Linked DNA regions of Homo sapiens: regions 2, 3, 4 and 5 are each linked to region 1. Evidence: promoter capture Hi-C in 16 types of primary human blood cells and fetal thymus (Javierre and others, 2016). All regions are on one chromosome and are shown on one strand. The core of a region is centred on a gene start or on the middle of the fragment in contact, and the rest is flanking DNA. Distances in the headings are between cores, read along the strand shown.

Region 1 (3,386 bases), core at 561-3,060:
GTTGTTTAAATGATGCAAATAATCTCTTCAGTTTTTCATTTTAGGACATCCTGTAGATAGCCTGAGCTTATATATATATATATTTTTCTCTCTCTTTCTTTTTCTTTTCTTTTCTTTTTTTTTTTTTTTTTTTTTTTTGAGACAAGGTCTTACTCTGTTGCCCAGGCTGGAGTACAGTGGCATGATCATGGCTCACTGCAGCCTCAACCTCCTTAGCTCAGGTGATCCTCCCACCTCAGCCTCCCAGGTAGCTGAGACTACAGGCACGTGCCACCAAACCTGGCTAATTTTTTGTATTTTTTAGTGGAGTTGGGGTTTCATCATGTTGCCCAGGCTGGTCTCGAACTCCTGGGCTCAAGCAATCCACCCATTTTGGCCTCCCAAAGTGCTGGAATTACAGGCATGCGCCACTGTACTGGGCCTATTCCTTTTTCAAGAGGGAGAAGTTTGGTTTATATCTCAGTTTGCTCAGGCTGCTCTAACAAAATGCCATAAACTTTGTTGCTTAAACAACCGAAATATATTTTCTTACAGTTCTGGAGGCTGAGAAGTCCAAGATCAAGGTGCTGGCCTATTCAGTTCCTGCTGAAAGCTCTCTTCCTGGCTTGCAGACAGCCAGCTTCTCCTTATGTCCTCATACTGTCTTTCCTTGGTCCATATAGGGGAGCAGGCAGATTTCTTTCAGTTCTCCTGAAGCCACTAAACCCATCATGAGGACCCTACCCTAGGGTCTTAGTCTAATCCTAAATTACATCCCAAAAGTCCCATTTAAATACCATCACCTTGAGGTTTAAAGCTTTAACATATGCATTTTGAAGGGACAGAAATAGTCAATCCATAACAGTTGAATTTTTTTATGTCAGAAAGTTTCAACAACAACACAAATTTTAATATGTGGTATTGGAAGAAAAGTTTTCATAAGTGCAACTTCTTCATTTTATATATGTGTTTATACATTGTGTTGAAATTCATTTAAAATTACATTTACTTTAATAGGGGTTTGAAAAATTTCTCTTTAAAGGAATCTTGTGATTTCTTTTGCAAAACTTTTTTTTGGTAATCAGAATCATCGTTCTATAATTTATTTATCTGTTTTACAAATTTGGATGCTTACACAATTGATTTTCTTAATTCTTCGTATGGATGGACTTGCTGCAATTCTTATTTAGGATGTATATTTACTGTATGAAATGAAAATGTAGGCTGAAAGTCAGAAAATAAATAAATTTTAAGCTCTTGTCAATCTACATATATGAGCATAAATTTTAAAAAATATATCTTTTTTCCCAGTTTATTTAAATTGTTGCCTCACAAATACGCACAACAACTTTATCTAGTAAACGTTCCTCTTGCATTAACAGCAAAAGCAGAAGGTGTGAAGGATACAGGAAGCGAGAAATAACTTTTAACGTCTGCTCTAGCCCTCCTGGACTAGCCTAAAAGCAGACAGGCAGGAAAGGCTTTGGGACATAGGGTGATTTGCAAGGTGACTCCGCCGGTCTCTTTCAAGCGGGAGCGATACACAGGTCAGCCCGGATCGTCCATGGTCACTGCCGTAAGTGACACTAACAGAATATATCAGAAAATCACTGCCTTTAAAGAACCAGGACATATCATTCCTCTCTCCAACGAAGTCTTATATTTTACCATTCTGCGTGTATTAGAAAGCTAAATTTAAACAGCAACAATAAGAAATCTTCCCCAGTGGATCCCTCGAGCCTTTCGGGAAAATGCAGGTTTCTGGCTGACAGGAAGAAGAAACAGCATCCAATCGGCACTTGTGTCTCAATGACCAATCAAATTTCGCCTTACATTGCATCGCTGGGATAAACGGAGCTGGACGACTCAGTCTCTTGGTCTGTGGCTGCTGCGGTTACCTGGATGGGCGAGCACCTCTGAGGCTGGCTTTGTTACCTGGGCAATAAGGGACTAGCAGTTCAGCCGTTTTCTATGCCTGCTGGATTTGTTTGTATTTGTTCCCAGCCACTGCTCATGTAATGTACTCCCTTAACCAGGAAATTAAAGCATTCTCCCGGAATAATCTCAGGAAGCAATGCACCAGGGTGACAACGCTAACTGGAAAGAAAATTATAGAAACATGGAAAGATGCCAGAATTCATGTTGTGGAAGAAGTAGAGCCGAGCAGTGGGGGTGGTTGTGGTTATGTGCAGGACCTTAGCTCGGACCTGCAAGTTGGCGTTATTAAGCCATGGTTGCTCCTAGGTGAGTATATCGACTTGCCACTAGATCATTGAGTCCTTTTAGCCAGATTACGTTCTCATTTTCCCCCTTTATGCGTAATAGTCTGTATTATCAGCTATCCTGCCGAAAAGCTGAACTGTTTCCTTTTTTGGATATGGAACTTCCATTAGCCAGCTAGAGCCGTTTCTGCCTCACAGTGTACCCATAAGAAGCATAGATGCTATTCTCGTAGCACTTGGCACTGCATATTTGAATTTTAGAAAAGCTTTCTTCCCGTTTCTCTAACTTCTCTGGAGAATAACACATTGATGTTGTGTTTTCTTGGCTTATAAAAAATACAGCTTGAAAAAAAAGGAATGAAAAAAGAATGTTTGTATCAGGCAGAACTACAAGTGACAATGGTTAAAGTTATAGAAAAGTTAATACTCGAAATAGTCCTGTGCTTGCTGGCCTGCGCAGCTCTTACAGACCGTGCGGAATACATGCCTCCTGTGGCCACGTCTGTTCATGGTGTCTGTTTTTGGAGTGTTTAAGAGAAGGAGATCTTAAGATCTTATGATTTATTTCGTATTATGGAAATACTGAGCCCCTATACAAGCATAGTTCACAAATAGCAAATGAAGCAAGGTTATAAAAGTGCAAACTTGTTAATTTGGCAAGAATATGGTATGGTGTTCTTAAAAAAATAGTCAAGAATGTTTTCAAGTACGTCTGAATTATTTCTATTTATGAATAGAGAAATTAAGACTTGGAAAGACTAAATGACTTATCACTATGCAGCTAAGGCATTCTTGAATAGAGAGAAGACTGAGAAATAGCCCAGGTGCTGTTCACCTAGTGTCTTACTCCTTTGAGGAATCCTGTGAAGTAGGGATTATCAGCTTTGTTTTACAAATAGAAACCAGGATTTAAAATTGGTGAAGTAATTTACACAAGGTAACACACCTGGTAAATAACAGACGTATGCATCAAGCCCAAGTCTGATGGACTCCTGCTGTCCATTGTTATACTAGGCTGCCTCACATAGACCAAGTTTTCAATCCTGCTCCGCCTCTAATTTACTAGATTAGCTGGTGCAAGCCATTTATCCTTTCTGGTCCTCCAAAAAGCCATTTGTAAAGATGAAGTAACAGTATCTGCTTATGTCATAGGATCCTCCTGAGGTTGTTGTAAAAGGTTTTTGA
Region 2 (3,386 bases), core at 272-2,771, 3.5 Mb after region 1:
TACTGAGTATCATTCATTTTGGTAACAACCTTTGCAGCAATACATAGATTAGATGCAGTTAATGGAAACTTTGTTAGTGGAGACATTATTTTATGTAGCAAGCTTAGTTTTATTTGTTGTTAGCAGTTACAGTGCTTTCTGTGAGACCTGGAGCACAGATTTTCCAACATGATAAAAATAATCATTATTTAGGCAACATTTACCAATTTCACATTCCATTTAGTCATTTTAGTCAGCATTATCTTTTTATTTATTGTTTTTAACCACAGGGGTGAATACCAAACGTTATCTTTAAACATTTTTGTTTCCAGATACTTTCAAGTGTATACCTTCATGAGACAGAACATTTTAGTTGCTCCCAAGGGTTCAATGTGAGATATAATTTGTAGAGAAATTCTAATGATTTTGAAAATATATGTCTTCAGTCAAAAATTAGCATTTAAATACTTCAGGCCAGGCACAGTGGCTCACACCTGTAATCCCAGCACCTTGGGAGGCCAAGATGGGCAGATTGTCTGAGCTCAGGAATTTGAGACCAACCTGGGCAACATGGTGAAACCCTGTCACTACAAAAAAATACAAAAATTAACCGGGCATGGTGGTGCACACCTGTAATCCTCGCTCTGCGGGAGGCTGAGATGAGAGGATTGCTTGGAAAGTTGAGGTTGCAGTGAATGGAGATTGTGCCACCACACTGTGGCCTGGGCGATAGAGAGAGACTGTCTCAGAAACAAAAACAAAATCAAAAACAACAAACAATAACAACAACAAAATAAAGTTGATGGCAGTGTTTTACAATGTTACTGTTAATTCTTCAGCAGTGCTCTGAGTTTAGTGTAAGATAAATGAGAGGCTGATAAACTTTAAGTGTTTTTTTTTTTTCCATGAAAAATGCAGTGATGTTGAACTCTTCATGATATTTGCTACTGCTGATTACAAACCAGGGTGACTAATCTTTGGCCAGTCATTATAATCAATGAATGTGTTATGACCTCACAGGTTTACATGACTTCACTCATAGACCTTTAATGATAAAGTAAAATTGAACTTGGGTTTGGTTGCATATAATATTTTGAAATATTCATCAGCAACTTTGTTACCGATAGACTACAGAGCTCTAGGTATAGGTAACTTAAAAAATGGAAACCAACCTTGAATTTTTTTCTTTTTTCTTTTTAAACAAAACGTATATAAACACAGGTTTTTACTTACTGAGCTTTTCAGATTTAACAAAAATTTATGTAAAATTTTGCTGAATTTTCTAGAAGGGCACTTTAAATTTAACAAGCATTGGAATCCAAGGTACTTGGGATGCCATTTCCAATATTACCAGTTGGATTTATTGTTATTTGGTATTACCATAAACTTTTAAAAGAAAAAAAGCCACATAATGAAAAAGTATTTGTCAATTCAAGAGCGCCTTTCTTCTGAGGGGAGAAGGATTTGTGAGGAGCAGTGGTTGTGACGTCCACTCCTGTTGCTTTTTCCAGTTTTGGTGTCCACATACCTTGGGGAAGCTGTAGAATTATTTTATGCCTAATTTTTCTCTTTATAGAAAATTATTATTGAATTATCTGCATAGTTCATAGTTTTGTTGTGAAAATTAATGAATCAATATTTATTAAAGGGAAGGACAAAGTACTAAGCAAAATGTTAAGGCGGCCCCTCAAAAAATCACTCCAGAAATGAGTCAGGTTCGAAGTAAAAATTCACAAATATAGTGATTTTCAAAATTATGAAAAAACATTCGCATTCTGTTTTTTTTTCTATAAGCATTTATTTATGCTATGTTGTAAAACTTACATAAAATTTAAAGATTGTATGCAGGCTAATAATTAGAGTCATACTTTTCTTGTGGAGACTAATTGGAAAAATTAAAAATTACATCCTAGGTTTAATTATAATGATGACATCTTATTTTGGTAAACATATTTTATAATTTGCTAAGCACTTATATCTCATTTCATTCTATAGCCCACACCACCGGGGGGAAGTAAGGGGAAGCAGATATACTCATTCTTACAGATGAGGAGGAAATGGAGGCAGAACCGTTTGCAGTCTAGTTATTTGAGTAGGTTGGTGTGAGTAGAGGGTAAGGAAGGGAAGGATCCGAAGACAGGGTGTAAAATTCAAATCCCACTTTTATTAATTCAAATATTGAATTTTTAAAGAAAATAACTGAACAATTTTAAAATTCATTCTTCAAATATATGTTATACAGTTCTCATTTTATGTATTTCTTTATTTTAAAATAATGCTATAATGAATGACACTGGATTCTTGCCTTTCCCCCCATTAAACGCTAATGGAGCCTTATCTTACAGTTGGCAATGTGTAGATGTGTATGCCTTAGAAGCAGAAGGTCCTTCAATGGTTCTCAGTCCTAACTTCATGTTTGCAATATCTGGAAAGCCTTTTAAATAAAACTCTTGCCCTGGCTGTATCTTAAATCTAAAAGTAGATCTCTGACTTGATATTCCAGTGGCCTGGCCTGTGAATCATTTCTCGTTGACTAGCCTGTCTTAACTCAATTTGACTAAAAAGTCTTCACCAAGAGATGTTAGTTGCACCTCTGTTTCTATTAATGCTGGCATCATTTTCTCTGTCACCTTGGAAATACTTTCATATTCCTCCCTCTCATGTTCTATTTTTCTGTGTTTCTCCTACTTCACCACCTTAATATCAGTCAGTGATTAGTCAACAGGCAGAAGCTCCTAGAAATTCTTCCTTTTTAAGGTTTTCTTGATTCCATCTCTGCTTTCTACTCCTTATTTCAGTGTAGTTATGACAAGCATAGTCAGTGGCACTCAGGTCCTCCCCCATCCCTCTGCCCATCATTTGGCTCTTAAACGTGCAGAACATCTTGTCTGTTTCTATTCATTTTATCTTTCTGTAACATCCTTTTTCATCCTGGTATTCTGTTGCAAAAATTTTCATAATAAAGCTTCCATTGCCAGCAAGAAAGTCCAAACCGCTTAACATGGATTAAGGTCACTTGCAATCTGTCCCAACCTGTGTGTATTTTTAAAACTTCATGTACCATTTCTACTCTTACCATTTTAACCCTTTTCACAACACTTTACAAAATGATGCCAGCTCATTTTTTATAAACTTCAGAGTAGCTCTGATTATATTGGCTGATTTTTCTCATCATAAATAATATACATGTATATTAGGGGACATAAAACTAGGCTATAATTTTGTTATTTAGAAAGCAAATCCTATATTACTTCTGATTAAGGACATATGATGTTTCATAGAGCATTATGAAAGACAAGGGAAAATATGTGGAAATTGTAGTTACTGCTTCTGTTTTACAGTAGTTGTTGACTGGCATTTTTGTTTTTCTTTTGATTCAAAAAAGCATTTTTTAAAAAATGAAAAGT
Region 3 (3,386 bases), core at 447-2,946, 3.4 Mb after region 1:
GTTCCACATTATCTTCCATATACTGATGGCATATCTTTGTTAACCTATACTTTGTGAATGACTTTAGGACTGATTCAGTTTCAAACGTTTTGTCCTTTTGTCTTTGTATGAACATGAATAAATGTTTCAGACTGTTTTCCATTATTTAATTCAGAAAATATAATTGCTAGTGACAATTGCTGGCCCCCTCCAGGACTTCCAGAATAATCTGCTGCTGGAAAAGACCTCTCTCACAGAATTTTTGAAATCTTTTCTCATTTTGTGTTGTTAATCTGCATCATTGAAGAAGACGAAGTGCTATTTCGCGTCCAGAGCACAAGTAAATATATTAGCAACGTTTTCCTTTCCACATTGCCCATTTCCCATTCCCCACTATTACAAACCCACATTCCATGACAAGCAGCTGAGGCATCATCAGGGGAACTCAAAAGAAAAGGCACCTACAAATGTATGCATACACCTAGTTAAAGACATTTATCCTTGTAAGTGCCATCTATTAATTTTGTTCCTTTATTGTGTAATCTTGGACTTAGGGACAAATAGCACATCACCATTATTATTGGAAAAATCCCCAGATGTATCAGGGTGATCATAACATCTTGGCACAGAAGATTTTGTTAAATTCATATTCAAAAGATAAGATAAATACCAAAACTAAATATACTCTTATAGCACAAATGGGGCAAGAACTCTCAGCCAGCTCTAGTTCTCGCTCATCATCTTTTTTTATTCCAAGACCAAGTCTCGCTCCTTGCGCAGGCTGGAGTGCAGTGGCACAATCTCTGCTCACTGCAACCTCCCCCTCCTAGGTTCAAGCTACTCTCGTGCCTCAGCCTTCCAAGTAGCTGGGATTACAGGCATGTGCCACCACGCCCAGCTAATTTTTGTGTTTTTAGTAGATACGGGGTATTGCCATGTTGCCAAACTAGTCTCGAACTCCTGGGCTCAAGTGATTCACATTTGGCCCCCCAAAGTGCTGAGATTACAGGCGTGAGCCACTGCACCCGGCCACCATCGCTCATTTTTAAAAGCACATTTATTGAGCTCTTTCTAAGAGACAGGTTGCATTAGGCACCTGATGGGAGCCAAGGTTCCTGCTCCCATGAAGCTTATATTCTGGGACAAGAGATACCCAAGTAAGAAATGAAGACATAAAAACACAAAGTAATTACAAATTAAGATAAATCTAAAATTAAAGGAGTGAAACACATGATGACATAGATATTAACTAGGAGCAGAGGGTAGAAGTTGTTTAGATGTAGTGGTCAGGGATAACTGTTTAGAAGAATTGCCACCTGAGCTGCTATCTGTAGGATGAAAATGAGTCAGCCATGTGGAGACCTGTGGGAAGAATATATCCAAAAAGGGAACAAGGGAAACGATACCTTAAATACAATGTCATAATTACAAAAAAGACCCCTCAAAAATGCCAGTTATCAGCAGATGGCAGTATCCATATATGTAAGAAAAGAAATATAGGTCAATAGAGTTGGAAATATACACTTGTTTCAGATAGCCATGTCTTAAATTGGATGTCCAGTATGATTCATCCTAATGTGGAATGAGTAAGTAGCCGTATTTAAGCCAACTCAAGGCAAAATTACCAGGCCCTGTTGATACTCTACTACCCAAAAAGTTCTTCTCCCTAGGGTCCCTGCCACAGTTGCCTCTTTTCACTTTCCTCCCTAAACTTCTTTTTCTGTATTTACCTTTTAAACATTGTTCCTCACATTTTTATTCTTTTTTGGCTCTCTACAATCTTTTTCAAAGTAATCCATTCCCATTGGCCACCATGTTCTAAACTCTCTTCTGAGTTTACAAGTCAAATATATACCATTGGATTTTGCCACATAAATGACGCACTAGGACCATAAATTCAGCAGAGCCAAAACTGGATATGTTATTTCTTGCCCTGGCCACACATTCCAATCATTGCCTATGTAACCTCCCTGGCACCCACATTGATCACTTGCCCATGCTTGCCACCTGGATCCTCTTCTACTTTCTGACTTCTTCCCCTCAGCTCCCACATTCAGTCACCCAATCTCCTGATTTTATATTCTCCATATTTACTGGAGTAAGCTCATTTAGAAATTAATGTATCAATGCTGAATTCCTTACTTCTTTACACTATGACCTGAATTATATAGTAGTATCCACTAATTATGTGTTTACATGTGCCAAGTACTCTAATAAGTGACTGACATGCATTATATCATTTCGTCCTTCCAATAGCCCTATGAGCTAGGAACAGTATTATTCCTCTTTTATATATAAGAAGAGTAAAGCTTACCAGTGTCCAACAATTTGCCTAAAGTCACCTATATAAGTGGAAGGGAAGAAATTTAACCCACATATTTTGACTATAAAACATGACCTTTTATACAGTGTGTCATAAAAGAGAAATGGAAAATTAGCTTTCATAAGAAGAATCTAATTTGATAGTTCTTTTAGGAACAACTTTCCCACTTCAAAGGTTTTAGGATTCAAGGATAAATGACACTAAATCCAGCTATAAGGTGAGATGGTATTCAATCCATTAAAACAGTGGTTCTGAAATGTTTTCAGGTAGCAAATACCTGGAACTTGTGGTGTTATATGGAAAAATTTAAAATATATTAATAAATTTAATTTCACCAAAAAGACTGTAACATAAGACCATATTTTACATAAATGTCCCCACATTATTTTGAATATATAGGTTTTCCAGTCACATGAAATATTTGATCCATTACTGTTTCTTTTTTTTTTTAATCTGCTAGGTGAAAAATGCTAGCAATCTACTAATTTTTTAAGAATGACTATGAGGGAAAAAAGCTTAAAATTGAAAAAAAATATTTTTCTGTTAATTAGAAATACATCATCATTCAATTTAGTAGATCATCTTAGTCCAACCTACTGAACTCTTTCATATGAGCATAATTTGAGAACCACTAAAATATACATTTATTAAGCACCTATATTTAAGAAAATATGCAATGCGTTATGGGAAAACAATAAAATATCATGTCTCAGTTTACAAACTTACCGAGAAGAAAAAAAAATTCCTTACAGGGTTTTGATTTTGTCTTCTAAGACTATATAAATGTATGAAAAATGTTTACGCTTATTACAAGAAAATTAACTATTGTAGCTATGGAATAATCATCAATGCAAATTAAAACCTGTATATATGTATATGGGAGGTCTTCAAAGAAGTTATGAAATAGGGTGACACTATCAAATTCATACATTTGAAAATTTACTTTTGGAGTAATGCATTGTGAAGAAATTAGATCAAGAGAAACAGTTGCAATAGTCCAAGTAAAAATGTGGCCCTGAAATAGGATAGTAAAGTAGGAAGGAAATAATTTGAAAGAGGTTCCTTAAGATATAGAATCACTATG
Region 4 (3,386 bases), core at 441-2,940, 3.1 Mb before region 1:
GGCCTGCTGTCAAGGAGCTTGCAATCTACTGCTTCTCTTTAAAGAAGGAACTTTAGGTGTGTACAGCTGTAAGAGGATAGGAAGGGAGGAGTGCCTACATTTATAATCAAATAAAAATACAGTTCCCCCTTTACTGACTCCAAGGCCCAAAAAGTGATGTCCTGGTTTTAAATCCATGCAGTTGAAGAGAAAAAGAAGTTGAGTAGTTTGCTCTCCTGCCAAGTCCACTCACAGGCAGAACAGTTTCGAAAGCAGATGGAATTACTGGTCCCTATTCCTGCCCTGATCTCACCTCCTACAATTCTCCCCTTCTGATACCTGCTCCACTCTAGATTCTTTGCCTTTGCTGTTCCTTTTGCCAGGCACACTCTTTCCCCAGATATCGGCATAGTTAACTCTTACATTTTCAAGTCTCTGCTCAAATGGCTATCTTTTCAATGGGCCCTACTCATCCCTCTATTAAAAACTGCAACCCCTCAATGTTGAATCCCCCTACCCTTTTCTACTTCTTTTCTCCATAGGACAATTCTATTACTTAACATTCTAACATACTACATAACTTATCAAGTTTATAATTTATTTTATCTCCTCCCCACAACAACTATAATGTAAACTCCATGAAAATAAGGATTTGTTTTATTCACTATTTTGTTCAAAGTTCTTAGAACAATCACTATAACATCTAACAATCAATATAACACATATAAAACTATTTTGTTCAAAGTTCTTACAACCATCACTAGAACTCAATATGCATTTGTTAAATAAATGAACGCACACTGTCTAAAGTACAGCACAGAATAAAGAGACCATCCATCTATTCATAAGAAATATCCAAGAGGCTCACGTTGTAAACAGATATGCAGAAATTTCCCTGCACTGTTTGTTACTTGTTTTTCTTTTACATGTGATCATTCACATGATATATGCAGGCCCCTGACGCATGCATCCATGTGTATACACACACACACACGCGCACACACACGTACACACACTTCTGTATGTTCTCAACTGCCCTCTTGCACACTAATACTTCCATATAGCTAAGTATCTACATTTAAAATTGTTTAAGTTAGATGGATGTATTAGGTTGGTGCAAACAGTAATTGTGGTTTTTAAAATTGCAAAAACTGCAATTACTTTTGCACCAACCTAAGTGCCATTCTACTGTCTGGCTCTGATGTCCTAATTACATAAATGCATTTATATTTAAAGAATAGGTAATTGACTATAAGTTTACATCCTCCATTTTAAGTTTCAAACACTTACTTTTATCTGTGCCACACTACTTTTCATTTTCTGTTGCCAGTTGGTCCAATAAATCAAAGATGCTTCAAACTGGTCCAAATAACAAGTACCCAATGCTCTGAATTCCTTGACAGTTTACTTTTTCTGTCTGCAAACATCACCTATAAAATATACCAAAGAAAGCTTTATTAACACTAACAAAGTGTGAAAAATGATGATATATTTTTTCTATACAATGGACATTTGACCGCTTTATTTTTCTTAATCCATAAACAAATATAATAAAAATTGTAAAAATCCTTAAGTAGTTACACATAATAATGTATACCTAACACATACAAGTAGAAAAAAAATCCATGAACAAGAGAGCAAATAGAAGGTTTTATTCTAAGGACCAAGCGGAACAAAAGTTAATTTAAAAAGGGATGTCCTATAACTTTATTAAAAATGTTCTCATAGTGAGGGAGATACATACCTACATCATAAAATAGTAGTGTGATATTATTAAAAAAAACCTGAGGAAACGATAGAAGAGAAACTCTATATAAACTGAGTATAAAAATCCAATGTTTCTACACAGACTAAGAATGAAATACCCAATATCCTTGCAATAATGATCATTAAGAAATAAATTTAATCCACATAGAAATTTAAGGTGCTAAACTACAATAATTATGTCTCAATGTGATCTATTAATGGCACAAAGCTTCAGATATATGCACATATGAGAACTAAGTATTTAGCTCAGAATAAACCTAGTCATCAGCATTAAATCTAAAATCTTCAGATGTGTTTTAATACTCTAAGTAAGTTTTAGCAATTTCTGCAAGATGCTAAATTGATACTTATGTTCACAAAGAACTTGCATTCAAATATTTTATTGGAAGTACATATCTAAATGGTTTATAGTATAAGGCACTGAAATCCCAAAAATAAAATAGAAAATAAAAGGATTAAAAGATACAGAGAATGCAGAGAAAGCAACGTGCTTAGTAGCAAAATAACTGAATACAACTGGAAAAAAAAATTAATTTGAGTGTCAGAAAGGGTATAACAGATTATCTGGTCCAATTCCTTCTTTTAAAAGAGAACACTGAAAGCCAGATATCCTATTTCAATTATAATTATAATAATTAAATTATAATGCCAGCTAGACTTACAACTAGAAACCTACCATAAGGACACCCTGTTAAGTATTCCTTTCACTGGCACACACATACAAATAGTCTTGACATTATAAAGTGATACAGAGCGGCTGTCATTTAATGCAGATGGGGATGTATACGAATTACTAAGTCAAGAAATGTTTCTATTACAATGATTGGCATGGTGTCAAGGTTAGTAAAGGCAAACTTATCAATCTATAAAATATAACTACAATCTAAAGCACATCACTGCTTATGTACGAGGCTTACAGTTAAAGAGACAAATGTGTGTAACTTTACATAATACGCTTATTAACAGGCTCTTTCTTCAATTAGTTATTATTGCAGTTGTTTAGAAAGCTCAGCCTTGTTTTCAGCTGGCAAGTTGTCCCCCAATCTTTTCTTTATGTATCTTTTTAAAGTTTATCAGCACTTTGGGAGGCCGAGGTGGGTGGATCACAAGGTCAGGAGATTGACACCATCCTGGCAAACACAGTGAAACCCCGTCTCTACTGAAAAATTACAAAAAATTAGCCAGGCGTGGTGGCGGGCGCCTGTAGTCCCAGCTACTCCGGAGGCTGAGGTGGGAGAATGGCGTGAACCTGGGAGGCGGAGCTTGCAGTGAGCTGAGATCGTGCCACTGCACTCCAGCCTGGGCAACAGAGTGAGACTTCGTCTCAAACAAACAAACAAACAAAAAAAGATTACTCTGGGTCCTAAATCCTGATGCCCACAGACTAGTCTATCTAGGACCTTATTATGCCCACAACTATGACATCATTGTTTGAACTTAGTTTCAGAGTAACTTTTCCTACTCGATGCTATACCTTAGATAAATAATTGAGAAAATCCAGAATAAGTTACGTAAAACACTTCATAAAATCAGACTCTGTGATGGTAGCAGAGAGGAGAGGCATGCCCCTCTACCTTAAACAGTCTATTCTGATATCATGCAAGAGTTACCATCTTAATAAGCCTATGTTATCAAAAGTC
Region 5 (3,386 bases), core at 572-3,071, 3.1 Mb before region 1:
TTTGTCATTTCCTGTAAGTATATTTATATTCTAACCCCGGGCAACTTCTCCCTCTACAGAAAGTGGATGACAAGGTGCATCATCCAAAGCTTTGCCCACTAGGAAGACTGTTTCTCTTCACTGTCTTCAAGGCTATTCTTTAATGAGATTGTAATATAAGCTGCTGCCCAATTTCAGCTTTCATCCACATACTTGGGCAACCCATTCGTAAACTAAGCTCAGCCATTTTTTTTCTTTCTTTAGCTTATTGATCAAGACCACACCTCTGCTCCATATGGTCACCAATATGAGCTGAAGGAGTATTGATGCAACTCTAACAGTGATGTAAGAGTGTATGCTGTCTAATCCTATAGATTGATTGTGATCTTCTTTGTGCTTCATCCCAAATGTAATTCTTTTATCTTACGATGGATTACAGTTCAGCTTCCCAGAACTTATAACCTGGTGTGTCCAACAAGCCAATTTTTTTTTTTTTAGATGGAGTCTCGCTCTATCGCCCAGGCTGGAGTCAAGGTACATTTTGTTTTGTGTCACTTAGTGTCCCACAGTAAGCATTTCCTCTTTACCAGTAGCATTAGAAGGGCCATTTTTCGAAAGACTTGCAGCCTTCATCTAGATCCCCAGGCACCTGAACTGTGATTTTCCCACTGAGATTTCTATAAACTCCATACTACATCTTTTTCCACCACTGACACCTCTAACATCATAGGATCTGCCAGATCATATAGCCCATTGTCGAGGCTATTTTCACTACAGCTCAATCCTGCTGTAGAACCCTTTCCTGTGCCAGGCTGCAAAATTGTCAGCTTTTTATGTCACCTGGTTTATGGATGAGAAAAATATTTCTAGGTGTAGAGTATGTGGCTTACAGAACCCAAAGCAGCCTCCTAGGCGTTGTGCTTTTTCCTTTTTCATATTGGAGGTAAGATGCTGCCATTTGTCTTGTATTTTGGAGGGGATATCCTAGCACTCCTCTGAACAATGGGCCCTTAATGTCTTTAATAAAGAACCAGGTCCCTCCATGATTCTTCCAAGGGTTCATTTCTCACTCTCTGGAGCACAAACCTTGAGCATGCTAATAACCTCTCGCTAAACGTGTTTGATCAGCATGATGTCATGATGTAATGAATCAATATAATATTCTACAGGATTTCCAGATGATTCCTATCTCTTTGGACTGTAAGTGTGAGTAGGAAACTTAATATAGTCCTGGGGAAAAGTTTCAATGTATATTGATATTATATTTCATATGGACATGAACTATTTATTTCATATGGACATGAACTATTTTAAATTGTCTTGCTTGATTGGGATAGAAAAGAATGAATTCTCCAAACCGATAGCTGCATACCATATACCTGGAGCCATATTAGCCTGCTTTATCAATGATACTATGCTTGGCATGTCAATCGCAACCGGGGCTGCTACTTTGTTAAATTTTTGGTAGTCTACAATCATTCTTCTATTATAGTTCATCTAGTTTCTGCTAAGGCCAGACTGTTGAATTAAATGGAGATATGATGGAAACTATCAACCCTGCATCTTTTTTATTTTTTTGTTTGTATTTTATTTTTTATGTATATTTTATGGGTATCATTAATCTGCACCATTTTCTAGGCACATTATATTGTTTTAGATGTTGTCTCTTGGGCAAGAGAGGCAGTTTTAAAGACTTCTTTTTAGCTTTGCTCACTATGATAGCTCTTACTCCATAGGCCAAGAACAATACATGGAAGTTGCTCCAACTGTGAAATATGTCAGTCCCAATTAAACACCTGAAGATGGAGTAAATGTCCACTGGGTTGATTTGTGAACCCAGTGGACTCATTGTGAGCAGACTCTGAACAGACTCATGGACATGACTCATGGCCTCCGTATGCTTTCATTTCGAAAGGAGAGTCATGATGTTTCTTCAGATCTTTAGGTATCAGTGTTAATTCTGATCCTGTGTGCAATAGTTCTCAGGAAGTGTGGGTACTCCTTTTCCGAATGTACGGTCATTCAAGTATGTAGAAATGGATCTCTTTGGGGAAGGACTAGGGGAATCATTACATGTCATACTTGACTTGATATCACAGGATATTTCTTCCTGAGACCCAGACAAGTCTCGATAGCTTGACAACTGGCACAGATCCAGGAAGTGGGCAAGATATTGTGACTTTTTATTGGTGTGACCACCCTCAGCCCCCTGTTCATCCATTCTTTCCTTTAATTGCATGTATCAAGCAGCATCCTCATTGGAAGCCCATGTATTTTGCTCCTAGTGACACTATGTTTTATTAACTGTCTTCACAATTCTCTCTTAGCTGCTGCTCTGACATTGTTGGGCACAATGATAATTGTGACCCACCCCACCCCCAGCATTGAGGATTAAGTTTTACTTCAACCTCTCTTGCTCTTGGGCTCCATGATCCTCATTGTTACTAAGGAGCCAAGTTCTATGACAGCCTCTCCTACAGTCAGCACTGACCTGTTGAGAAGAGCCAGTGCTGGATGTCTTGGTGATGTTGGTGCCCCGCTTACTAGCAAATTCCTGATGACCTTGGGGAATGATGTGTCCTCATGGCCTCCTGTGGAAAATAATTTTTTCTAGTAGGCTTTCTGATCTCACATCCACTCCAGCATATCCGCTTTCCTGGTCCTCTTACTGCCTTCCTCCATTGTCCGCAATGACAATTTAGGCATTTCAGTTTTCCTCAGCATGGGCCATCACTTTCTCCAGGTGTCTAGAGGTACCCTAGCAGCAAATTTGCTCTACCTCCTCAGATCCTTTCCAGCGAGTTTAATCTTATATCCCAAGAGAGTGCCCCAATGTCAATAAATTCTTATTTATCTGGTATTATGTTCCAGTACTATTTACCAGTGAAGTATTTTAGCAGCTGGGCTACTATATTGTGCCAGGGACTAACTGTGCCCCATATGCCACCTGCAGTGGGCTCTTGTTTGTCATTCAGATAATGAGGGGTCCAGTGTCAAAGTCTCAACTTACCACTTGTTTTTTTTTTTTTGAATCATTCCTGGAATCACTGTATCAATTGGATCCTCTAAGAAGCAGATACTGAGATAGAAACAGGGGTGTCAAAAGTGTATTAGAAAGTAATACCTGTGAAAGGAAAAGACAGAAAGCAAGATTGAGCAGAAAAACTCAGCAGATCATGATGAAATCTGACAGGTCTTTGAAAGCCCAACAGAGAGGTCCAGAGTAAGGATTGCCTGTTAGAAGAGTCTTACATTGGGTGAAATTTTAGGCCATTTAATATAGTTTGGATGTTTGTCCCCTCCAAATGTCAGGTTTAAATGTGGTCCCCCTTCCCCGACCAAGGTTGGAGGTGGGGCCTGATGGGAGGTGTTTGGGTTATGGCAGCAGATCCCAAATGAATGCCTTA

Evidence for each region. The method cuts DNA at HindIII sites, captures the fragments that hold promoters and counts their contacts. A CHiCAGO score of 5 or more calls a contact.
Region 2: a contact is called between a fragment that was not itself captured here and the fragment with the promoter of DUSP19 in region 1, in 1 of 17 cell types (non-activated CD4 T cells). The highest score is 10.5, in non-activated CD4 T cells.
Region 3: a contact is called between a fragment that was not itself captured here and the fragment with the promoter of DUSP19 in region 1, in 8 of 17 cell types (naive CD8 T cells, non-activated CD4 T cells, total B cells and 5 more). The highest score is 10.2, in naive CD8 T cells.
Region 4: a contact is called between a fragment that was not itself captured here and the fragment with the promoter of DUSP19 in region 1, in 1 of 17 cell types (total CD4 T cells). The highest score is 5.2, in total CD4 T cells.
Region 5: a fragment that was not itself captured here is called in contact with the fragment with the promoter of DUSP19 in region 1 in 4 of 17 cell types (non-activated CD4 T cells, total CD4 T cells, activated CD4 T cells and 1 more); the score reaches 8.8 in non-activated CD4 T cells.

The regions. Positions count from the first base shown.
Region 1 is chr2:183,076,937-183,080,322 of GRCh38, forward strand. It overlaps DUSP19 (dual specificity phosphatase 19), which reads left to right and starts at 1,811. Exons shown (of 4, transcript NM_080876.4): 1 at 1,811-2,223. The coding sequence starts at 1,998. The HindIII fragment of the contact is 1,671 bases long and covers 795-2,465 here.
Region 2 is chr2:186,591,705-186,595,090 of GRCh38, forward strand. All of the region lies in intron 1 of ITGAV (integrin subunit alpha V), which reads left to right. Among named protein-coding and RNA genes, the nearest start is that of ITGAV, 3.3 kb to the left of the region's middle. The HindIII fragment of the contact is 2,842 bases long and covers 101-2,942 here.
Region 3 is chr2:186,479,253-186,482,638 of GRCh38, forward strand. The region is part of intron 1 of LOC105373785 (a long non-coding RNA gene); the gene reads right to left. Among named protein-coding and RNA genes, the nearest start is that of ZC3H15, 5.3 kb to the right of the region's middle. The HindIII fragment of the contact is 1,180 bases long and covers 1,107-2,286 here.
Region 4 is chr2:179,992,046-179,995,431 of GRCh38, forward strand. CWC22 (CWC22 spliceosome associated protein) reads right to left here. Exons shown (of 20, transcript NM_020943.3): 2 at 1,270-1,409. The coding sequence starts at 1,296. Among named protein-coding and RNA genes, the nearest start is that of CWC22, 14 kb to the right of the region's middle. The HindIII fragment of the contact is 523 bases long and covers 1,430-1,952 here.
Region 5 is chr2:180,010,874-180,014,259 of GRCh38, forward strand. No RefSeq gene overlaps it. Among named protein-coding and RNA genes, the nearest start is that of CWC22, 5.3 kb to the left of the region's middle. The HindIII fragment of the contact is 3,469 bases long and covers 88-3,386 here.